Regions from separate parts of the Homo sapiens genome. Here all the other regions are linked to region 2. The links are contacts of gene promoters, found by promoter capture Hi-C in human tissues and cell types (Jung and others, 2019). All regions are on one chromosome and are shown on one strand. The core of a region is centred on a gene start or on the middle of the fragment in contact, and the rest is flanking DNA. Distances in the headings are between cores, read along the strand shown.

The links. Contacts are between HindIII fragments. The study calls those that stand out against the background at their distance.
Region 1: a contact is called between a fragment that was not itself captured here and the fragment with the promoter of ASTN2 in region 2, in 3 of the 25 tissues and cell types used here (dorsolateral prefrontal cortex, hippocampus and pancreas).
Region 3: a contact is called between a fragment that was not itself captured here and the fragment with the promoter of ASTN2 in region 2, in 2 of the 25 tissues and cell types used here (IMR-90 fibroblasts and aorta).
Region 4: a fragment that was not itself captured here is called in contact with the fragment with the promoter of ASTN2 in region 2 in 5 of the 25 tissues and cell types used here (H1 embryonic stem cells, aorta, dorsolateral prefrontal cortex and 2 more).

Annotation. Positions count from the first base shown.
Region 1 is chr9:117,481,520-117,487,562 of GRCh38, reverse strand. No RefSeq gene overlaps it. Among named protein-coding and RNA genes, the nearest start is that of ASTN2, 69 kb to the right of the region's middle. The HindIII fragment of the contact is 4,983 bases long and covers 1-4,981 here.
Region 2 is chr9:117,412,454-117,418,534 of GRCh38, reverse strand. It overlaps ASTN2 (astrotactin 2), which reads left to right and starts at 3,478. Exons shown (of 23, transcript NM_001365068.1): 1 at 3,478-4,038. The coding sequence starts at 3,597. The HindIII fragment of the contact is 9,596 bases long and covers 1-6,081 here.
Region 3 is chr9:117,503,167-117,509,486 of GRCh38, reverse strand. No RefSeq gene overlaps it. Among named protein-coding and RNA genes, the nearest start is that of ASTN2, 91 kb to the right of the region's middle. The HindIII fragment of the contact is 5,434 bases long and covers 1,705-6,320 here.
Region 4 is chr9:117,296,248-117,302,954 of GRCh38, reverse strand. The region is part of intron 1 of ASTN2 (astrotactin 2); the gene reads left to right. Among named protein-coding and RNA genes, the nearest start is that of ASTN2, 120 kb to the left of the region's middle. The HindIII fragment of the contact is 5,743 bases long and covers 1-5,619 here.

The sequences.
Region 1 (6,043 bases), core at 1,241-3,740, 70 kb before region 2:
GAGTCCCCGTCTCTGATGTGTGCCTTAACCCAGGGTTTTAGAATCGAACAGACAGATCTGCTATGTGACCCTGGGCATGATTTACCTTTCAGAGACTCAGAACAAAGAGAAAAGTCACCTACATTAGAGGACTATGGTGAATATGAAATGAATATTAGCTTTTCAGCAAGGGTGACCACACGTCCTGATTTCCCCAGGATGGTCTCAGTTTTTGCTTGTGGTCCTGATGTAATTGTGAACGGCACCCCTTTCATTCTCAAAAGGCAATAAATTATATGGTTAGCCTATCCAAAACGCAAGACACTCTGCCAGACATAGTAGTTACTCAGCAAAACCTAGTTTCTCTCTATTGTACTTGAATGCTGATCTTCTGTGAATGCAGATAAAGGGACAGGTGAGGCAGTTTCCTTTCCCTTTACTTCTATGGGGTAAACTGTACACTAGCTTTTCTGCATCCAGCAAAGAAAGCAGTATGGCAGTGTATGGAAAAATCAATAGTGAAGAGGGTAGGAGTCATAGGAAGATAAACCAAGCCAACAAATTTCAGCAGAATCCTAAGCAAGCCCCTTCGTCCTCTGTCCTGCTGTCTCCCACGTATGAGGAGTGATCACCTTTGCTTTTCCTTTTTTGTAGGACTGCGGCAAGGCCCAAATGCAGCAATGGGTATGAAAATGCAGTCATAGGCAGAAGCAAGGTATCATTATCTCATTTTTGATGCATACCAACTATCCACAATTGGATATTTTCTAGAGATACTTCTCTGAAAAAGATGCAGAAGTTCAGCATGTATAGCCCCATAGCTATATAATATACATTCATTTATGTCTTCCAAGCCTAAGAAATGTGGGGAATTATTGAAATGTCTACCACTGTGATAGCTCAAATCAGTGACAATGGCCAAATTTTGTTGCATCAATGTCCCTGAGGGGAAGCTGGCACCAATGCCAGGATAGCAGCTGATCTGCGTGTCTATTTACATAAATTTGCATTGGTGTGATGTTGAAAACTAAATGCCAATATTAAGGAAAATCGTTTTCTCCCAGACTAAGTCATCTCAGCAGAGCACAGTAGCAAGGAATACAGGCTCTGGAACCTGGCCTGCTACCCTCTATTTGTGTGACCTTGAAAGTTATAACCTCTTGTGTTGTATTTCCTTATCTAGAAATGGGAATAATGATAGCACTGACCACAGAAGGTTGGTGCAAGGGTTAAATAAGTTAATGTGTATGAAGGGTTTAGAGCATCACTTGACCTATTAAGTGCTGTGATATTAGCTGCTATTATTAACTCACACCCCATCCATTGTCCCTCACCATCAGTTTTTGTAACGCAGCCTCTGCTTTTTCTTCTATAAATCATAAAATTTAGAAATTTAGAGCTGGGAGGGATCTCAGAACATCTAATCAGTCACTTTTAGACTTTTATTTTATTCCTTTTAAAATAACTATGGAGCACTTTTTGAAAATAAAAGCTTACACGGAAACCCAGCATGGGGAACCATAGTAGCGTTGCAGTTAAGAAAATGGGCTTTGCAGATAGACAGGTCTGATTTCTAGTTCAAAGCTGCTTATTAGCCTTCTAACTCAGGGCAAGTGATTTACCTTGGCATTAAGCCTTCATTTCATAAAGTGTAAAATAGCAATCGTAATTGTAAATATTTCATAAGATTGTTATAAAGTTAAATGACTTCACACTTATTGAGTGTTTAGTGCAATGCCTGGCACATAATAAAGACCCAATAATTACATTAAATTCTTATGACTTTAATAAGTGAAATAGATACAGGAGAGCCAATCCAGCTGAAGCAGAGGAGAAGACATGGACCCCATGAAAGGCTCCCAGGGAACTTCTAGGACTCTGCAAAGCACAACTTAAAAGCTCCTGATCTAAGCCAACATCTGGAAATCAGAGTCCAGGAAGTTCTCAGCCCTTAATGTTAATTAACACATTCCTTCATCTCTAGTCGTTGTAATTGTTCTAATTCTGCCACTGTCCCCTACTGGTCATGTGATTGCTCTTCTTTTCCTTTTTCTTAAAGTTACAGCCCTGAGACAGTCTCTTTGGTTTAAACACCTTTTTCTAGGCCTGATTAAGCTGAGCAAGATTGTGTGGCATCCCCTGTGGTTGGCTCCCAATGGGGGTGAAAGTATCATGAACTTGCATTTCTAACATCTTCTGTTCCCTTCCTGTGCCTTTGACAGCTCACAGCCGGAGGGGGAGTGAGTCATTTGGTTAAAAATAAAAATACTACCATCTTTTCTCTAATGGCTTTGTTCATGATCACTGCAGGCTGGCACTGATATGTATTCTAAGCAGCCAGGGATAGCCAGTGGGCAGCCTGGGAACCTAGCTGGATTGCCTAAAACCAAAGTTTTGTCATCTCCTTTACTTTGCTGAAACACGGGGATTCAGCCATCTCTACCTTGGCTGGGCTACATTAGCATGGGGTGGATGGAATAGATGGTCAGCCTTCAGAAGAGGGGAACAGTGATGAACCCAAGAGTCACTTAGAGGAGAGAAGGTAAGATTCATAGCCCACAAGAGGGTAGCCCAATCCCTTCATTTTACTGAGACCCAGAAATGGAGCGTTACTTATCTAAGGTCACTTAAGCTGAGAGTTGGAGAAGGAAGCCATGGATTCAAGGCTTCTGTCTATAACAATTACAATGACTATTGCTCTTATTTCTACTTGCTTTTCCCAGCAGTATGTTAAATGTTTTATGTTGTTTGCCTCATTCCATGATTAACACAATTCTATGAGGTAGGTATTATTTTCCTCATTTTACAGATAAGAAAACTGAAGTTTAACAAGGTAAAGTGACTTGCCTAAGTTCCACTGACTAGTACATGGTAAAGAAGTGATAAAATAAGTTCATTTAGGTCCAGTGCCTAGGTTTTCAATCATTGAATCCTCAAAGTTTAGGGAGTGGGGAGTGTATTTATTAGCATGTGTATGTGCTAAGAGAGCAGCAACAGTGTCCTATTCATTATTAAATCCCCAATTTTTTTTTTTTTCTGAGACAGGGTCTCTCTCTGTCGCCCACACTCGAGTTCAGTGACACAATCTCCACTCACTACAACCTCCACCTCCTGGATTCAAGCGATTTTCCTGCCTCGGCCTCTCAAGTAGCTGGGATTATAGGCTTGTACCACCATGCCCAGCTAATATTTTGTATTTTTAGTAGAAACAGGGTTTCACCATGTTGGCCAGGCTGGTCTGGAACTCCTGACCTCAGATGATCTGCCCACTTCAGCCTCCCAAAGTGCTGGGGTTATAGGCATGAGCCACCATGCCCAGCCTAAATCCTCAATTCTTAACAAAATTCCTAAACAGGAACAGGCACCCCATGAGGATTAAGTCTATGTGTTATAACCATAATTTTTGGCTCCATTAGAATCTGGGTGTTGCCCCACCCCCCCGCCCACTTCTAATTAGGATGTTAGTGACTACTATACGACCTTGGTCAACTCTGCCAGAGGACAACTTCCTGTGGCCAGTTTGGGATAACATCTGTTTTCTTTCCCCATCAGACACTATGTACCTGACTTATGCACAGGCTAGTGAGAAGCATTAATGTTGGAACTGAAATGGAAGTTAGTGAAGCCATGACATGTGTCCTGATTTCACCATGTGACTTTGGAGAAGTCACTCATTTTTGCTGAACCTTGATTCACTCAGCTGTAAGGAAATCAGATCATTTGCAAGAACCCCATTCAACAATTGCTTGATCCAAGCATGATGTAAAGCCAGGTTTCTCAAGCTCAGCATGATAGAAGTTTTGAGCCAAATAATTCTTTTTAAGGAGATCTGTGCATTGCAGAAAGCTTAGCAACCTCCTCAGCCTCTGTGAGAGGCCAGTAGTTCTTCCCCAGTTGTGACAAATAAAAACATCTCCATACATTGTCAGATGCCTTCTAGAGAGCAGAGGGCAAACCCTCTGGTGTGAAGTGACCTGGGTTTTGTCTTGGCTTTTTCAGCATCTATCTCAATTTCCTTACAGCTCCCTTGCCTTCTCTGGGCCTGAGTTCTCACTTGAAAAAAAAGGGACTTATTCTATTTGGCCAGGATGATTGAGCCATGAACATGCTCCAGTTGTGGTCTTTTCCTGTTTGTGCTGAGGATGGAGGTAATGATCAGTTGAAAGAATTGGTGCTAAGTGCTTCGCTACAGGTATACGACCATCAGAATCCAGTATGTGTGCTAAGGGCAGGGTGGGAGCTTGGAGAAAGTATTATGTTCACGATATTTGTTAAACCTCATAAATCTTGTCTAAAACCCTAGGAAAATCGCATAAGCCCTGTTTCACACATTCCTTTCCTAGATGCCCACAGTCCAAATCCTTTACCATCATATTTGCAATGTCTATGATTTGAACTCTGCCTAACTCCTATTCTTCTAGATAGGTAGATAGGTAAGTAGATAGATAGAAAGATTGAGAGAGAGAGAGAGACAGAAAGAGAGAGAGAGAGAGAAATGAATAGACATGGGCAAATATCTATGTCTATCCAATAGGAGATATATACATAATAATGGTGATACAGATAAATATGAGATAGATACATGGTTGGATGGATAGATAGATAGATAGATACATAGATAGATAGAGGTAAAGAGATCCTATCAGTTCTTTTTCTCTGAAGAACCCTGACTAGTAAAATATATTAATCATCATCATTATTATCACTGTTGTTCACAGAGCATCCAGTCAGCTAAATATATATTCGAGAAAATGTGCTAGACTCTAGAATCAGATATCATTTCTCAGATGACATAGGGACTTCAGTTCTGCCTGTTTCTGTTCTGTGCTGTAAGCTCCTTCTTTGGAAATGGCCATAGTAACGCCTCCTCCCTCTGCCTCAGGCATTCTGCTGAGTCTCTCCAGAGGTAAGAGATGTAGAAGCTCTTTCTAAGCTCAGAAGTCACTCCTCCTTTGAAAAGGATGGTTATCTATGGCAAAATCAGGGAGACAATCACCAGTTCTGTAGCCAGGCTTTTGGCCTGTTTTGCCCACTGCTATACACTCTTTGCCCTGGGCAGGGCCATTATGGTTGAATAAATGAAAAATCCTACATTTCCAATGGCCAGTTTGGAATGTCAGGATAACTGTTATCCATGTCCACATTGACTAGATAGATAAACATCACATTATGTGAGAAAGTCAAACATATCCAAAGTTGGAGAATGATTTTTCGATGAGTTCTTCTGGAACAATTGTTTTTCAGCTTTCATTTGAGGAGCAGAACACTCTGACCAAACAAAATCTTATGCAAAAGCACACTATACAAAACAGGAGCTGTTTTGGTTGAAGTGTGTGCATGGTGACAGGGTTACAGATCCCAAACACTCCCTACATACCCTGTGCCTTCTTCTACTTCCTCTTCCTTTTCTTTTAGCTTTCAAGGCTATCTTTAAAACCTTAAGTACTTGGAAAACACATTTGGGAAATCATTGGCCATAAATATTTTAGACAGAGGTTGGGTGTCATTAAAACAGCTCTATGCAGGGACCCCGACAGTTCCAGCTTAGCCTTCTTTCCGCCTTAGACTCTGTATGAGACCTCTGGCAAGTACTTTTCTTCTCTGTGTCTCAGTTTTCCCATCTCTAAAGTGAGAGAGGTAGAATGATATTGAATGGTCCAACCAGGCATCAGTCTAGCACAGATCAGACACTCATGTGATCTATCTATTTCTCCCTCCATTTTGTCTTACTATGTTGTCCCAATCTCCTCTTCCTGAAGAAATCAGGGGCCCAGGGGGAACCCAATAGCATGGAGCATCAGCTGCAGCAACTGAGCAATGTGATGGTGTCACCGTGTCTCCTCAAGCTCTTGAATGGTACAATCAGTTGTCTGTACGAAATGACCAGAAATCAAAAGACTCAATGTTGTGATCACAGCTGGGACCCCATGTTTGGCTTGAGCAGGATAGAGGCACAATCCTGGGGCCACATTCCAGACAATTAAAGAAAATATCAGCATCTATTTACCAACGAATTACAGAACATCATTCAAATGTCATCAGTCCAGAACCCACTCCCTGGCTC
Region 2 (6,081 bases), core at 2,229-4,728:
TGTGACAGACAGAGCAAAGATTTGGGAGCCAGGCATTCTTGTATTTCACCACTTGATAACTCCATGACCAAAATCAAGTTTCTCAGCTTCCCTGAGCCTCCGATTTCATACCTATAAAATAGGGATAAAAAGCCTTGCTCCAAATGTTGCTGAGATTATACATCAAAGCAGTAGTTATAATTTATTGAGCAGCTATTATGTGTTAAATGCTTTGTATAATTATTTCTAAAGCCTCACAACCACCATAAGGCAACAGTTGTTATCATCATTCATTGATATGCTACAAAAAGTTTTGGATCACAGAGCATGTGTTCAGAAGTATAAGTCATTTCCTGTGGACATTCCAGATTTGACACTGTCTGTGATATAAAGTTGGTACTCCTTGTCTGCCTTTTCTGTCTTGTCTTCAGTTACTCCCTCTCCCCCTCACTGAGCTTCATTTCCCATCATACACCTTGCTGTCTCTGCCCTCCCTTTGTTTCCACATTCTGTGTTCTCAGCCAGGTGTTTCAGTTGCAAGCAACAGAAAGCAATCCTGAATAATTTAAGCAGAAAGAGAATTCAGAATTCAGTTAAGTGATTATTAGATTCCTTAGAATCTCCAGAAAGGCATGGGATCTGGGTTTAAAGTGCATGAAGTCAAGAGCACCACTCCAAATCATAGCACAGAACTGTATGGGTGAAGATATGTTTCAGCTGCAGCCAAGCATAAATAAAAGGCACTTCACACTGTTGACATTGATATCACTGGGCTCCAAACAGTGCTATTAGAACCTTTTCGACTAGCAGAGACACCTGGATGTAACTGCCCCAACTATTGCCCTTTTAGCCGCCACTGGATTCTGCCTGATTCCGGCTTATTTTTCAGCATCTGGGGTGGGTGAATCTAACTGGTGAAGCCTGGGTCATGTGCCCAAGCTCTAGCTGCAGTGGAGGCTGAGAAAGTATCCAGAAATGTTAGCTTCTTCATGGGAGGTGGGCTGTGCCTTAAAAGATAAAACATTCTCTGATGTAGGAAAGGGATTTATTCATTTACTAAGCAGTTGCAAAGAATGCCAAATGCCAACTTTAACCTAGAATGCCCACTCCCTTGTTACTAATCTTTATGGTTCAATTCCAAAGCCACCGCCTCTGGGAAGCTTTCTTTGATTTCTCCAAGTACCTCATCTTAGGAAACACATGTCTGCCTGCCTGCCCATTACCTGAGATATTTATGTGCCTGTCTCTTTCCGGCATCCCACCCCCTCACCCCAATCATTATAAGCTTTCCAAAGGCAGGAGTTGTGTTTATCCATCCCTGCATCTCCATATAGCACCTGGTAGGCACCCTGAATATTTGGTGATGAATGAATGAATGAATGAAAGTGTTGGTCTCATTTGACAGGCCTTTGTACTAGAGGTCCATGAAGGACTTGCACAGACTCTGCCTTACATAAGGGAGCCCTTTTTTCCTGGTGTGCTCTTCTGTAAATGGACTATGTCAGCATATTTGAAGAAAGGGGCATAGAGAATCAGAAAGCCCCATTGCGGTGGATAGTGGCGGATTGTAAGGACACAAAGGAGAGACTGAGGGAGGCAGGGTGACATATTTTGGAGGAGTAAATGAACTAGAGCAGGCATCAGAGAGGCAGGAGACCATTTAGAATTAGAGGACTTGAAAGGCCAGATTCCACCCCAACCTCCACACATCCTTTGGGTTCACAGATTAGTAAACTGAGACAGGAGAAGTATACCTTACAAACCTCACAGGGAAGTAGATCCAACTGTGCTTATGCAGATTTACCTTTTACAGCATCTTTGATGGGTGGGGTTTTCCAAGGTCACTGAGGACAGTGTAATTTAAGGGAAACAGTCAAGGCTTGAAGCCTACTGTTCAAACCTCAGCTCTTCAGCTCATTTGCTATACGACCTTGGAAAATCCCTTCACCTCCCTGACCACCTGATCTCAGTTTCCTCACATGGAAAATGGGAATCATAATATCCATCTTTTTGGATTATGGTCATGTAAAAAAGCTAACATACGTACATGTCTAGCATTTGGAGAATGCTTTAAACACATTAAGTCCAAGGTCGCAAAACAGCTTTTGCTTTTTTCCTTATTTTCAGTGCTCTGCCTTTATCCAACGTTATTAAAAAATATATGATGAGAGAGGAGAAAAGCAATTTATATGAAGGGTTAAAGATAGAAAAGGGGAATGAGACAGAAGAGGGAAGAGCTAAGAGAAAAGTGAATGCATAGAGACAGCACAAAAGGTGCAGATGGGTAAGCTAGACAGAGATGAGAAGTTGCTCACAAATTATAGGAAAGAAGCATTTGTAAGATTAAAGTCAAGATGAGAAGGAAGGAAATGAATGGAGAGATGAAACAGAAAACAGAGACAGGGAAGATGAAGAAAAGTAGGGGAGTGGGGAAGGGGCTGCACGGCACTTGACCCATGCAGAGGTGTCCGCTCCCTGGAGGGTCTCAGGTATGTGGGTCAGAGACAGAGTCAGCCCAAGACCAAAGGGTGCTGAATCTGAGGACCTAGCTCAACTTGAGTCTAGAAAGACTGCAGGTGAAGAATTGGTGAGCACTCCCGTTCTCTGGGACTTGGGCAGAGGATCTAAAAGACCCGGGAGCCAAGGACAGACAGAATAGTAGGTCTCTACCTCACACCCTTTTCAGGAATTTCACACAGAGAGCAGAAGCAGCCAAGTAGAGCTGCTCCAAGCTGGGAGCAGGGATCCAAAATAAAAAAGCGTGAGTGGGCTGGCTTGCAGGGCGGCAGCTAGGGGGCCAGAACAGCCCGGCTTCAGTCAGTTGTGGGGTCGGCGTTAGACGGTGGAGTTCGACGCCCCTCTGTCCATTAGCAATTAGTGCTAGCACAAGGCCTGGATGGAGGGGAGAGGAAGGTTTGCGGGCAGTGGGAGAATGAATGCAGGAGTTGTGGCCAAGTGGGTGGGAAGGGGGCTCTGAGGCTACAGGAAGTTATTTCAGAGACTAGAAAAGGGTAGGAGATTGGAGAAAGGACTTGTTCTTGGGCCTGAGGGGAGACAAAGTTAAGTCTTGGCTATCCAGGGGGCTCCCTATCCCCAAGAAGGCGGGGCCTTGAGCAAGGCTGGGCCAAGGCGCGCCCCCAGGTGCAGCCTCTGGGTTGAGCCGAAGGTGGGGTGAAGCCAGGAGAACTGGGTTGAGTCAGGGGGGCTTGGGGGGGCCCGAGGGGGCCCTAAGTATTAGGAATTTGGGGAGTTTAGGGAGGGGTGTTGTGGCTAAAGAATGCTGTGAGGGCGGAATTGGGGGATCTTGGGAAAGGGGAGGGAGCCACTGGGACTTGCACGAGGCCGGGCGGAGCCTCCGAAACGCTCGGGGTCTGCGGGGGGAGCCGGAGATCGGGGACGGGCGGCTGGGCCCCGGGAGGCGGCGCGGGGGGGCGGTCCAGGGCCGATCGGGAGGCGGAGCCCGGAGCTGGGGGCTGCTGGCGAGCGGCTCTCTCCGCTCCTTAGCTCGGGCGTCCTGGTTCGCTTCGGCGTCCGCCGTCTCCGCAGCTGCCTCCTCTTCCTCCTTCGCCACCGCCGCCACCGCCGCCGCCGCCCGCAGCACCGCAGCCCCTCCCGCCATGGCCGCCGCCGGCGCCCGGCTCAGCCCCGGCCCCGGCTCGGGGCTCCGGGGGCGGCCGAGGCTCTGCTTCCACCCGGGGCCGCCGCCACTGCTGCCGCTGCTGCTGCTGTTCCTGCTCCTGCTGCCGCCGCCGCCGCTGCTGGCCGGCGCCACCGCCGCTGCCTCGCGGGAGCCCGACAGCCCGTGCCGGCTGAAGACCGTCACGGTGTCCACACTGCCCGCCCTGCGGGAGAGCGACATCGGCTGGAGCGGCGCCCGCGCCGGGGCCGGGGCTGGGACCGGGGCCGGAGCCGCCGCCGCCGCCGCGTCCCCGGGCTCTCCTGGCTCTGCCGGCACCGCCGCCGAGTCGCGCCTCCTGCTCTTTGTGCGTAACGAGCTGCCGGGGCGCATCGCGGTGCAGGACGACCTGGACAACACCGAGCTGCCCTTCTTCACCCTGGGTAAGGCTGGGCGCCGGCACGCGCTAGATCCCAAGGAACCCCGAGCCCCTGCGTCATGCCGGACGGGTGGGGGCGCCCTGGGGATCCCTGCCCGGGGCTGCCCCGAGTGGGGTTGGCAGAGGGTAGAGGAGGGGCCCAGAGGTCGCACAGGTGGTTGGAAACGAGCATGTGGGAGGAGGTCCTGGAGAGCGCGCGGCGGGAGCCTGGGGGCGTGCCAACCCTCCCGCAGTGGGAACCTGCCCCTCTGCCTCTCAGTCCCGACCTGGAGCTCTGCTTGATCCATCCCGGAAGCCGGAGACCCCATTCACTGAAGGTGCTCTGGCTAGGGGCCGGAGCATCCCAGATCCTAAGCCAGTTTCAGGTCGAGCCTCCCACTTCTCCGGGTACCGTCACTGGCCACCCGCCGTCACCGCCCCCTCGCTCTCGCCTCGGAGTTGCGGGTTCTGCCCTTCCAGATGGATTTTCATGAGAGTAGGAATGGAGTAGTTCCGTGTGGAATCGCTCAACCCGCAAAAGCGTGGCTTCCGCATGGGCTGAGTGACCTTGGCCAAGTCGCTTCCCTTCTCTGAGCCTCAGTTCTGGCCATCTGTGAAATAGGGCTGGAGAGACTTGAGTGGTTGCTGAGAACTGGGATTCCGACTCCGAGGTCTCCACGTTTAGAGCCTCCCTCTACCCCCGTTACCGCCTTCCCTTTCTACCCACCTCCAGGCAGAGAGCCGGTTTGTCCTTGCAGCTCACTCCCTGGGCTAATAATAATTACTTAAAGGCAAGAAAAAGGAGAGGAGAGGAGATGGGTGTGGGTGGGGGGCTCCAACGGAAAAGTTAATCAGAAAAGTTCGCCAGCAGCTTGCTGCCTGCTGGTTCCCTGCGCGAATCCCGGAGGAGTCGGCCCTTCAGTGGAGCTGTGGGAAGCGCAGCTGATTTCCCACCCGGGTAATTGATAGCTTAATTATCTCGGAGAGCGTTTACAAAAATGTTGTTCCCCTTAGCTCTCCCGCGCTCGCTGCTTGCTCGCTCTCCCCTCCCCTCTTGGGGGCGCGGGGCCTTATTGGTTGTCGGAGTCTGGCCAACAACAGCGCCCGTGAGGCGCCAGGGGCTCGCCCAGACCCGGAGCTCTTCTTCCCCGGGTCTTTTCCTCGGCGGGATCCGCCTCGGGCACCGCAGGTGAGGGGCCTTCCAGGTGAGAACCTTTACGATCCCTGAACTTCCGAGGTTAACTCCTTGCTCGCCTGAAAAGACCCACAGAATAATCAGCGGACTACGCTCCACTCTCCTGGTAGCCCTGATATTGTTAAAAGTATTTTTGTGACCCACTCCCCATCCTTTCATGCTACCACCTCTGGGGATTTGAGCGAGTGCCAGTGGTTCTCCCGCTCTGAGCTTGAACCTCGGGGGTCGAGCCCCTGTACCCACCCTCGCAGGCTGTAACCTGAGCGTGCCGAGCGTTCCGGGAGGAGAGGCAGCGGAGCGTCCTGCAGGTTCCTCGGGGACTCCCCGCGGCGGCGCTTCTGGGGTGCGACGCACCAAGCACACACACACAGACACACACAAACCAGTAGCTCTTCCCACGTGCACCTGTGGGGCTGCCCATGTCCGAGAAAGGGAAGGAGGGTGGAGGTGGTGTTCCTTAGAGCGCCGCCGGACTAACCTCAGGCTCACAGCTGGCTCTTGCCACCTCCCCGTGGGGAAGGGTCTTTCTAGAGACACAGAAGGTATCCCTTCACTACCACTTCCATTCCTGACCTTCTCCCTTCATCCTTTAGATCTCTCTACTCCGGGGTACTCTGAGAGATGAGGGGTGGAAATCCTCCCGCCCCCCAAACGGCCATTCAAGTGAAGGGATGAGACGGTCCTTGGGTATGGCCTGACTTGGCAGTGAGGACCACAGAGCATTTCAAGTCTTCGAGGATATGGAGGACCTGCTCCAACCATCTGTATAGGTGCCCCGGGATTCCTGGAACTGACAATCTTTGCCATTTTTAACTTTGGCTTTCAAACAGGATGGGTGCCTGTGAGCCTGGGACAAGCTGAGTGAGGACCTGA
Region 3 (6,320 bases), core at 3,172-5,671, 90 kb before region 2:
TACCTCTGGGTAGGTTTGCTTGAAACTTAAAAGGTTATGAAAAAAATTGTCATGGTCTCTTCTATTCTTGCCTTTTATTGCAGCCAGATCAGTAAGTTAGTAAATAAAACTTGCAATTTTTACTTTTCTCTTCTGCCAAGAACTCTAGAACCTTGGTACCGAAAGCATGGTCTGTGAAACAGCATCAGCTGTACCAGGGAATTTGTAAAAATGTAGAATCTTGGGTCCCAATGCAGAGCTAAGAAATCAGAGTCTACATTTGAACAAGATCCCAGGTGATTTTTTGCACATTAAAGCTTAAGAAACACTGCTCTACGATATTACCACTTTAGTATCAAAGAACCAGCTAGAAAGCATGACTGTCAACCTAGACTTAAAATTTGAGTCAAACCTGGAGAACTTTTAAAAACCGCAATTTCCAAGACAGGACAAGGTGGCTGACTAGCTAGTGTGCACCACACTTACAGAGAGGAGAAAGAGTGACAAATAAAAACACTAGCTCTTCAACTGGACCATCCAGGTGGACACGTTGGGATTCATCAAGGAAGCAATGTGACTCATGGAGAACAGAGAAAAGCAAAACAGGACAGCCATCCACCCAGGACTGGCACAGAGCCAACGGACACTCCCCTCTGTGGGGAAACGTTGAGTGAGTGACAACCCCGAGGACCCACACTTCTGCCATAGACCTGTCCAACCCTGGGCTCAGGAGATCCCCTATGGCTCCTTCAACCCCCACTCTACCAGGGCCTCCAGACTGACATGGAGAACTACATGGAGTCTGAGCAGAGCCACCAATCCCAGGCATACATGGAGTCCCAGGAGCCTTGAACCCCTGGACATCCCAGCATCAGTGGCTGCAGCTCTGGCAACAGGGGAGGCCAGGCTCCCTCACACACCTCTAAGATAGGAGCTGAATGCAGGAGCCTGAGGAGCAGACTGACTTACAGGCCTTGCCCCCACTGCACTTCACCAGAAAAGGCCCACTGGCCTGGGACTCCAATATGGCCACCCCAGCCCTGCCTGAGCTCTTGGGCCAGTAGCAGCCCTGCATTCCCAGTGATAGCAGGTAGGCCCATTATTTTTGCTGCTCTACAATTCCTGTCCCCACTTCCCTCAGGCTCAGGAGGGAGTGAAGTGATTAAGGACTAATATAGGCCCCCAGCACAGCACAGCTGCCTTACGGAAAAGTGGCCACACAATTTTCCACGCATGTCTCTGCCCCTGTTATCCCTCACCATTCAAGGCCTCTCAACCTTGGCTCCCATCTTAATCATTCTGCCCCCACCTGAACACTTCAGTTGGTGGTGGCTCTGCATTTCTCTAAGGAGGAAATCCCAGAGACAACCCACAGCCCCTCTCCCATTGCAGCTGCAGTGGTACTGCCCTTATAGCCCTTGGGCTAGGGAAGGAACAAAGGGCCTGGTTGCATCACTGGCACCTCCAGCATGCTGCAACCACCACACAGAGAGGACCCCAGTCTCTCTTCCCTGTAAGACCCCACCACCTACTCTTCACCAGGAAGGGCCCTTGGCTCAGGACCACAGAACAGTTGCCCCTTCCCTGACTGAGCATTCCCACTGCTAGTGGCTTGGTATTTCCCTGGGGTAAGGCTTCCAGAGGTAACCTCTGCCACTGCCACTGCCTTTGCTGCCGTGAGACTGGAGAAGGAACAAAGACCCTGAGTGCTTTATTCACACCAGCAGAATGCCACAGTCACCATAAGGAGAAGAAGCCAGTCTGTCTTCCACATGATCGCCCTCTCCCCAGGCTCATTACCAAGCAGGGCTTCTTGGCTTGGGACCACAAGGCAGCCATCCCACCTCGGGCCTATCGCTCTGATTGATAGTGGTGCTGTATTTCTCTTAAGTGGAGCCCCAAGAGACAAATGAAAAGCCTTCTTTCATTGCCACTACCAAGGTCCCTGTCCCTGGTTCCCCCAAGCTGGGGAGGGAACATAAAGCCAGAGCTCACCCCAGGGATGCTGTGTGCAGCCAGGGAGTGCCAAGTCAAAATCTGCAGCCAGCAGTCAAGCAGGAGAGGAGCTCACACCCTCAGAGCACTGAGAGGGAGCACAGCTGCAAATGCATGGAGATAGAGAGGAGCTTGGCTAAGCAAGAGCCTACCTCCCAAGCACAAAGCCTCAGCCCTCTGAAAACATCCAGAAATGAAGTCAGCTGATTATACTCAAACTACACCACAGTTAAAGGAACATCAGCCCACACACATGAAAAAGAAATAGTGCAAGAACTCTAGCAAGTATGAAAGCCAGTGTGTCCTCTTACCTCCAAACAATTGCATTAGATCCACAGCAATGGTTCTTAACCAGAATGAAGTGGCTGAAATGACAGACATAAAATTCAGAATCTGGATGGCAAGGAAGTTCATCAAGATTCAGGAGAAAGTTGAAACTCAATCCAAGGAATGTAAGGATTATGATAAAATAATGCAGGAGCTGATAGACAAAATGGCCATTTTAAGAAGGAACCAAACTAATCTGATAGAGTGGAAAAACACACTAAAAGAATATCATAATACAATCACAAGTATCAACAGCAGAATAGACCAACCTAAAAAAATAATCTCAGAGCTCAAAGACTGATTCACAAAACTAATTCAGTCAGACAAAAATATAGAAAAACAAAAATAAAAAAAGAATAAACAGAAACCTTCCACGAAATATGGGATTATATAAAGAGACCAAATCAACGACTTGGCATCCCTGAAATGACTCATTGGCATCTCTGAAAGGGAGGGATATAAAACAAGCAACTTGGAAACATATTTGACCATATCATTCATTAAAAAATTCCCCAACCTTCCTAGATAGGCTGAAATTCTGTTTCCGGAAATGCAGAGGGCCACTGCAAGATACTATACAAAACGACCATCCCCAAGACAAATAGTCATCACATCCTTCAAGATCGACATGAATAAAATAATAGTAAAGGTAGCTGGAGAGGAGATATAGTTCACCTACAAAGAGAAGCCCATCAGGCTAGCTGCAGAACTTTCTGCAGAAACCCTACAGCCAGAAGAGATTGGGGGCATATATTTAGCATTTTAGAGAAAATAAACTTCAACCAAAAATGTTATATCTAGCCAAACTAAGCTTCGTAAGTGAAGGAGAAATAAGATCTTTTTCAGACAAGGAAATGCTAAGAAAATTCCTAACTACCAGACCTGCCTTACAAGAGGTCCTTAAGAGAGTGCTTGGTTTTTTGTCCTTGTGATAGTTTGCTGAGAATGATGGTTCCCAGCTTCATCCATGTCCCTACAAAGGACATGAACTCATCAATTTTTATGGCTGCATAGTATTCCAGCACACCAACACGGCACATGTATACATATGTAACAAACCTGCACATTGTGCACATGTACCCTAGACCTTAAAGTATAATTAAAAAAAAGAGAGTATTAAATATGGAAAGACCATTACCAGCTGCCACAAAAATGCACTTAACTACATAGACCATTGACACTATCAAGCAACCACACAATCAAGTCTTCATGATAAACAGCTAACATGACCATGACAGGATCAAATCTGCACATATCAATATTAATCTTGGGTGTAAATGAGCTAAATGCCTCAATTAAAAGTCACAAAGTGGTGGCCGGGCATGGTGGCTCACGCCTGTAATCCCAGCACTTTGGGAGGCCGAGGCGGGTGGATCACGAGGTCAGGAGAGCTAGACCATCCTGGCTAACACGGTGAAACTCCGTCTCTACTAAAAATACAAAAAATTAGCCGGGCATGGTGGCGGGTGCCTGTAGTCCCAGCTACTCGGGAGGCTGAGGCAGGAGAATGGCATGAACCCAGGAGGCGGAGCTTGCAGTGAGCCAAAATCGCGCCACTGCACTCCAGCCTGGGCGACAGAGCGAGACTCTGTCTCAAAAAAAAAAAAAAAAAAAAAAGTCACAAAGTGGCAAACTGGATAAAGACACAAGAACCAACTATATAATGTCTTCAAAGAGGCCCATATCTCATGCAATGACACCCATAGGCTCAAAGTAAAGGGATGAAGAAAAATCTACCAAGCAAACAAAATAAAACCAGCAGTTGCTTTTCTAATTCCAGACAAAACAGACTTTAAACCGACAATGATCAAAAAAGGCAAAGAAGAGCATTACAAAACTAACTCAGTCAGACAAAAAAATACAGAAAAAAATTGAAAACAAACAAAACCTTCCAAGAAATATGAGACCATATAAAGACACCAAATCAATGATTCATTGGCATCCCTGAAAGAGAGGGAGGTAAAACAAGCAATTTGGAAACATATGTGAGTGTTAAAGGGTTCAATTTGTAACTATCCTAAATATATATTCACCCAACACAAGAGAACCAAGATTCGTAAAACAAGTTCTTAGAGATCTACAAAAAGACACAGATAATCATACAATAATAGTGGGAGTCTCCAACACCCTACTGATAGTAATAGATAGATGATCAAGACAGAAGACTAACAAAACTATTGGGGACATGAACTCAGCACTTGACCAAGTGGACCTAACAGACATCTACAAAACTCCCTACCCCAAAAAACAGAATATACATTATTCTCATCTTCATATGGCACATATTCTAAAATCAACCACAGAATCGGCCATAAAACAATTCTCAGCAAATTAAAAAATAACTGAAATCATATTAGCAACACTCTTGGACCACAGTGCAATAAAAATAGAAATCAATGCCAAGAAAATCACTCAAAACTGTACAATTACATGGAAATTAACCTGCTCCTGAACAACTTCTGAGTAAACAATGAGATTAAGGCAGAAATCAAGAAATTCTTTGAAACTAATGAGAACAAAGATACAACATACCAGAATCTCTGGTACACAGCTAAGCAATGTTCAGAGGAAAGTTTATAACATGAAGTGCCCAAATCAAATAGTTAGAAAGATCTCAAATTAACAACCTAATATTACACCTTGAGGAACTAGAAAACCAAGAGGAAATCAACCCCAAAGCTAACAGAAACAAGAAATAACCAAGGATCAGAGCTGAACTGAATGAAATTGAGATTAAAACACACACACAGACACATACACACACACACACAACCAACAAAACTAGAAATTTGTTCTTTGATAAATAGAAGACTGCTAGCTAGACTAATGAAAAAGATGATCCAAATAAACACAATCAGAAGTGACAAAGGGGACATTACGACCAACCCCACAGAAATACAAAATACCATCAGAGACTGTTTTGAACATCTCTCTGCACACAAACTAGAAAACCTAGAAGATATGGATAAATTCCTGGAAATATACTACCTCCTTTGACTGAACCAGCATGAAATTGAATCCTGAACGGACCAATAATGAGTTCTGAAATTGAATCAGTAATAAAAAGCCTACCAACAAGAAAAAGCCCAAGACCAGATTGATTCACAGCTGAATTCTACCAGACATATAAAAAGAGCTGGTACCATTACTACAGAAACGATTAAAAGAAACAGAGGAGGAAGGACTTCTCCCTAACTCATTCTCTGAGGTCATCGTTATCCTGATACCAAAACCTGGCAAAGACACACAAAAAAGAAAACTTCAGGCCAATCCCTTGATGAGTGTATATGCAAAAATCTTCAACAAAATGTAACAAACCAAATCCAGCTGCACATCAAAAAGCTAACCCACCACAATCAAGTAGGCTTTATCCCTGGGATGCAAGTTTGTTTGAACATATATGAATCAATAAATGTGATTCATTCGTAAACAGAACTAAAAACAAAAACCACATGATAATCTCAATAGATGCAGAAAAGGCTTTCAATAATATTCAGCATCCCTTCATGTTAAAAACCTTCAACTAACTGAGGAACACACCTTAGAATAATAGGAGCCATCTATGACAAACCCACAGCCAGTATCATACCAAATGGTCAAAAGCTGAAAGCATTCCCCTTGAGAACTGGAACAAGACAAGGATGCCCATTCTCACCCCTGCTATTCAACATAGTACTGGAAGTCTTAGCCAGGGCAATCAGGCAAGAGAAAGAAATAAAAGGCATCAAAATAGGAAGAGAGGAAGTCAAGCTATCTCTGTTTGCAGATGATATGATGTTATACCTAGAAAACCCCATAGTCTCTGTCCAAAAGCTCCTAGATCTGTTAAGAAATGCTAGCAAAGTTTCTGGTTACAAAATCAATGTACAAAAATCAGTAGCATGTCTATATACCAAAAACGTCCAAGCTTATTTCCAAATCGAGTACGCAATTCCATTCACAATAGCCACAAACAAGCTAAAATACCTAGGAATTCAGCTAACCAGTGAGGTTAAAGATCTCTATAACAAGAATTACAA
Region 4 (6,707 bases), core at 1,499-3,998, 110 kb after region 2:
AAAGGCTAAGAGGTAAGAATGTTGCTTGGGGCTAGTGGACCATGATATGATTCCCATAAGCAATGGATTTAGGCCAGCGTCTGACCCTGGGGATTAATTCATCATATAAAGGTATTCCTTTAAGCCTTGCCTCTCCCATCTTTCTGCAAATAGCTGTTGGACTTAATGTCAAGTATGTTTATTCTTCTAGGCTCTGTTTGGTCACTGGGTTTTACAGGTTTCATTTTTCCTCCTCACACATCACACTGCATGGTGCCATGCTTTCCTGACTCATTGCATTTTACATGTCAGGTCTGAATCCATGCATGTGGCATTCAGATGCTGAGTCCCCTGGGTTGGGGTGTGGGGGTTGGGGTTGACAAGTCAGACTTAGAAACAGAGACTTAAGATGCCCTCTTGGCAGCATCTTCAGGAGAGTTGGAAGGGGCCCTGGCATTATAAGGGATTTTTACCACTCCTTGTCCCGCATACTGCTAAATTACTTTTGGGATTTAAGGAGGTTCTGCCTCTCCTCTCAGTGAATCCTTGTCTCGTTGTTCTTCTAAACAATGAGATCAGAAGAACACTGCATCATGATGCTGTGTGATTTAAGGCAAGTTGCTACTCTTCTCTGGTCCTTATTTAACATATTAGTAAAATGGGTGGGATAGATCATTGATCTCTATCCCTTTACACTCTCTTCCTGTTGTAATTTTCCATGATTCCAGATCGTTGCTGTAGGGATAACTTTAAAAGGTTTACGGGGCACTGGGGACAAGGTGGAAGGGTCTTGGAAACTGTTTACAAGTAAAGTAGGAAGTTTTATCTCTGTGACTGCTGCCTCCTTTTTCTTTATATTTGGTACTGTCACCCCCCCTCCCACCCCCACCACTTTTCTCAAAACAACCAGGTGCTTCTTGCCTTGACAGTGGTGAGATAGAAAAGAGTGACGAGAAGACAGACAACTGACAGGGAGTTCCATAGGCTAAATGCTGCTCTAGGCTCCTTCCAATGCATTATCTCCTGTTATTCTCACAGCTATCATAAGAGATTGATTTTATGATTCCCATTCTTTCATGTGAGGCCAGTGAGGCTCAGAGAGGTGAACTTAATTTGTTAAAGGTCAACCCAGTGAAATATAGGAAGGAGCAAAGTGATCTTAAAAACTCATTCACCGTAAGACAGAATGCTTCATATACCTCTTTCCCAGGAGATATTTGCATCTTAAAAACAGAGGAAACAAAGGACTTTACTATGATGAAATGGATAGGCAGAGCACCTGAGTGACCTGGAAGGATGCCTACTGCCCTGGTACTTATCATATCACACCTCCTGGCATACACTTGATTCCTCGATCTCTTTACTCAAATATGCAAGCTCCTTTCTCAGCCTATGTAGGACAGTGGTGAAAACACTGAATTTGGAATCTGTGAATCAGGGTTTGGAAAAGTGTAGTCCCCTTTTAGGGCCTCAGACATCTCAGCTGAAAACTCGGTGTTCTACTATCTACTTTACCTATGTGGGTTTCCTATGAGGGCTAAATGCGACAATGAATGAAAGCCCTTAGCCTGGCACGTAAGTAGGTGTTAGCAAAGGTTAGTTCCTGTCTCCATTCTTTAGTCACCCACTCTCTGCATCAGTTTGCAATGTTGTGGGACAAGGAAGAGGAGAAGAAGAAGTAGAAAAACTCATTGACATTGGGCTGTGTTTTTAAAAAGAGAGACAGAGAGAGCATGCAAACATAGAAACCAAGGGCATATCATGAAGCGAAATGACAAAGACCAAGCAAAGAAATACAGCAAGGAGAGAGGGAAATGGTACGGGAGAGAATAACTAGGAGTAATGAGAATCAATTCCAGCAACCCTCTATCTATTTCCAAATCTAATCTGAAACGATATGCTTTTCTCCCTTGCCAATAGCTCTTAATTCTTCTCTTCCCCTCCCTTATTTAACTGGGTATAACTGTATTATTTATCTTCACTGAGTGGCTTGGGAAAACAGTTTCATGTAAAAGATGCAGTTCCCAAAGGAGGTGGTAATGGGCAGATTGGAGGCAGAGGCAGAGATGAGCGCTGACAGCTGGGGTTGGGGAGGAGGAGTCTAAGGCACCTCTGGAGTCTGGAGACTCTAATCCCACTATTTGAAGAGTACCATTCTTTCCAGAAGAGCTTGAGTCTGTTCTCCAGCTGCTGCCAGAGGGCTTTGGCCATGTTGTGGCCCCTGCCACTTCTCCACCTTCTGTCCCCACGGGTGACCTCCCAAACCTAGCATACCATTGGCATTATCCTGTGGGCATTTAACCTGGCCTGACATCAGGATCTCTTAGAATTATGAAATGTCCAGATTATAGACTCTCCCTGCTTGCCCTGTCCAATCTCCTGATAAATGAGGAGCATTAACTGACCTCTCACGTGTGTTCCTGTAACAAGCTGTACCTCCTATCTTGTGGTCATTACCACACACTTATCATCTTTGCTGACTTTCCTTTTTCTGCTCTCCTAGATTGTGACTTTCTTGAAGACAAGAAACTCAGAAAATGTACATTTAGTGATACATTGATTTGACAAATATTTATTGCACACCTGCAGCATGCTAAATAATGAAGACTGTAATGTCCTAGACAGGCATCGCCTTCTACTATGAATTAATGATTAAATGGGTGGATGACTGAAAAAACTGAAGCAAGGGGAAATGCTTGCTGCTGCTTAGAGGGAACAAAGGAATATCCAGACTAAACTGGAAAGTCTGTGAGGATAGTAGTCAAATTGATCTTTTCCTCCAATCTATCCTTAGGACCTAGCACTGTGCCTGGCACATTTCAGATAGTCAGTAGATAATTATTGGAAGGTATATTGATGGATGAAGTATGTCGTTGGATGATTGCATTTGCTTTCAGTACTAACTGTAAAACTTTGCAGATTTCCAAGCATGTTGCTATGTATGGCCTTATTTTCTCTCAGTTCTACATTAGATGTGATGTAAGTAGGCCAGACTGTGACCCCCATTTTACAAGTAAAGAAAATCATAGAGGCTCTGTAATTTGTGCTCCAGGATACCAGTCAGGTGCTGTAGAGGGATCACAAAAATATAAGCTTCTGACTCAAAATTTAGTATTCTCTTCACTAACCCAGGCTGTTTAATTAAGTCAGAATGACTGTGGTCCATCCATTCACCCATTCACCCATCAGTCCATCCACCTTGTCATCTTAATTCATGATATATGGAGAGCTTTATTAACCTCTGAGCTCGGGCTTGGTCTGATTGCATAAAGGAGCCCCAAGTGGGACCTGGCACTTGTATTATTCTGCTAGGTGATGCTCCATGGGCAAGAGTTGGTAACCCCCAGCCTCTCTCTATAATGGTGGCTTCTGCGTTTTATACCGGTTCCCCCCACTGTATCCCTTTGTACATTTGTGACCTTCTTGCCTTCCTTCCCTTGTGCCAATTCTCCATCTGAAGTGCCCTCTTGCCACACAGCCATTTGTTGAAATCTTGCCAATTCTTTGAGACTCCTCCATGAAGAGTTTTTAGATCCAGCCAGAAGTAATCTCCTTTCCTCTAAGCTTTCTACTTTGCTTTATAGCTATTTATAGCATGTCTTTTCTCAGCCCCTTGGACTAAGCTCCTGAGGACAGAGTCCCACAATGCCAGCTCTCAGAAGAGGTTGGTTGACTAAATGAATCTTTAAAGTGAGTATTTGCATCTGCTACAGAGGTAAAATATAGTCAGTATAAAAAACGTAGAGAAAAGTGAATGAGAATATGATTAAAATCACCTCTGATCCCACTATTTAGTGAGTGCCATTCTTCGTGGTCCAGTGTATTTTTTTTCCAGCTGTTTATACACATACTCATGTCTAAACAGAATCATAACAGAGTCCATTTTCTATATGAACTTCCCCTATCTCACTTCATGAAAATATAAGCTCCTTGAAAATTAACATTTCTTTCTTTTCATGTGCATGCTCCAGGATGTTAGGTAAATTTCTGTAGAGTTGCTGTATGGGAATCCAGCCATTATTGACACCCCAAGTTGCTGTCTCTTCTCTCTGTCCTCTGGAAACACTCATCTGACTTCAAATATGGGACGGCTCAATTAAACATACAGAACATTTATGGAGCCCCTATTCAGTTCAGCCACTGTACCAGGCACCAGGCTACACAAATAATTCTGACATGTCCCTGCACTAGGATCCAATAAGGGAAGTCAGCTGTATAGACTATTTTAAGATATATATATATACACACACACACACACACACACACACACACATACATATGCACATATATATATATATATATATACACATATATATATACACACACCAAGACAGTAGTAAAAGAGGATACTATAACTATGTATATGAAGTAATATATAACAAATGTAACTGTGGAGTGCTGTCTAAGTATCAAGACCAACCTAACAGCTAATTTGTTTGTATTATCTCATTTGATTCTAAAAACGACCCTGTGAGGCAGGTGCTGTTATTATCCTCATTTGGTAGATGGGGGAACTGAGGCATGAAGAAGCGAAGAGCTTGCCCAAAAACACACAGGTTGAACACATGGGACCTGGGATGCAAATTCAAGCAGTTGGTCTCCAGACCCTGTGATCTTATGCAGCATGCAATATTCCTCCTTATGAAAGCATGGAGGAGCACAACATATTAAATTAGGAAAAACACATAGTATATGTGGTACGTTATATAAATATCTGGTGAGAATTAATATTTAAGTGCAAGGAAAGGCATAGGAAGAGATCAGACTGGGGAGAAATGCACATAACAGGCCAGGAAGGGCCTTGTGTGTCTGGTTCAATAAATTAGGTTTTATTATGAGGGATAGTAGAAAACATTGGAGGGTTTTGAGCAATGGAATTATATGGTCAGTTTGACAAGTTAGAAATTTCATCCTGGTAGCCATTTAATGGTTGGCTGGAAGGAAGGAAGCCCGAAGGTAGGGATACCTGTTAAGGAGCCTATTCATTTACTTCTTGAGATCCCCTTTCCCACCTGCTGTGCACCCAGGAAGGCTGACTTATATGATTTGTTTCATTTAAGCATTCTTGGGCGTTTAGTCAAGGTCAACTTGTGTGAGACACCTGCAAAAAATTGGTGGGTAGAAGGAGGATGAGGTTGGGAAATTACCCTCTTGAAAGCTTCCATCCTAGGTTGTGCATTGGCAGTGGCTGGATTATTTTAGAAAAAGCTATAGTTCTTATCTGGTAGCTATATGGTAGCCCTTTCCTACAGCTATGGCATTTTTAGGGTTTGATAATCCCCCATCCCCACCATCCCTTGCCCCTTCAGGCCTAGGGTGGTAACAATTCCTTGCTGTTATCAATGTGGGAGTACTTCGTTGCTCATCATTAGTTTGCCTTAACCTAGCCCAAGCCTTTGTAAATGCTCCCTTCATTAAACACTTCTCATTGACCTTCCTGAGTATGTCTCCTCTTCTCTGATGAGACCCTGACTGGCACAGAACCATTTGCAATAGCCCATGAGAGAGATGATAAAGCTTTGCATTAATTAAGCATTTTAGAGATGAAAAAGGGCATGAGTATTTGCGATTATTTCCCAGGCTCACTCAGCAAGACTTGATGTGTGACAATCACCCATGAATGCTGGAATAGCTAGTGGCAAGGTTGGTTAAAGTCAACACCACTACCTTTCCCAACTCTTTCTGCCCGGGCGGTGAGTTCATCTCATGTAATGTCTGCTTTCCCCACAGTGAGAAAAAGATCATTTGCAAACTCATTGGAAGCTTTCTCTGGGCTTCAGCAAATAATCTGCTGGAGGGTCAGCTGGTGCTGTAGAATCAGAAGGCCGGTTAGTTAGCCACTTGGGAGATGTTACCAAGATGGCTGGTGATGAGAAGAGCTGCTTATTTTCTTAATGACCTTCAGGAATTAAATAAAAATACAATGAGTGCCATAGATTAGGAAGAACAAGCCGATTAAAAGCACAACATGCCTTTGGGATTTTTTATTTCTTTTCCGGGAGGCTGAAAGGCATCAGTGGCCACCGAGGCAGGATGGCAGTCTACCCAGAATCACTGATGAAGGCTGATCCTCTCTCTCAGCTTCTGTGGGGCAGTTGAGGGGATTTGAGCCTGTTGAATATTTCACGAGTTGCAGCCCATGGGGGAGAGCAGAAAAAGGTGAAAAGGCAATCCCTGTGTTTCTTTATGATTCCAATATAAAACCAAGCTATCCAGGGTGGGAGGGAGGCAGGCACTGGAGTCAGCCTACTGCCAAAAGGCATGGTGCACCAATTCTCCCACTTTAATATCTGCTGTTTCATTTTATATTCATCATGTCAGCATAATCTGCCTTTATGGGAATCATCTTGGTTCCTGACCCAATGCATTTAGTCCCCCTTTTGCTTAAACTTTGATTGTAATATGACTTGGAGACTTCAATGAAATGTTTATATGGAAGGAGTAGGGGAAGAGAAAAGGGAAAATGCAATTGGAAAATCAATCAGCAGAGAATCTCAAGAACTGGTTTTGGTCATGTTACTGTTCTATTAACCTGTTTTTAAGGGACACAGGACTGGTTTTCTGACCAAGTGTACTCTACTGGTTCTGAATAAAATGTACACAGTATCACCAAGCATTCAAAGCCCTTAACTCTGTGTGTGAATTACATTTCTTTCTTTCTTTCTTTCTTTCTTTTTTTTTTTTTTTTTTTTTTTTTTGAGATGCAGTCTCACTCTGTTGCCCAGGCT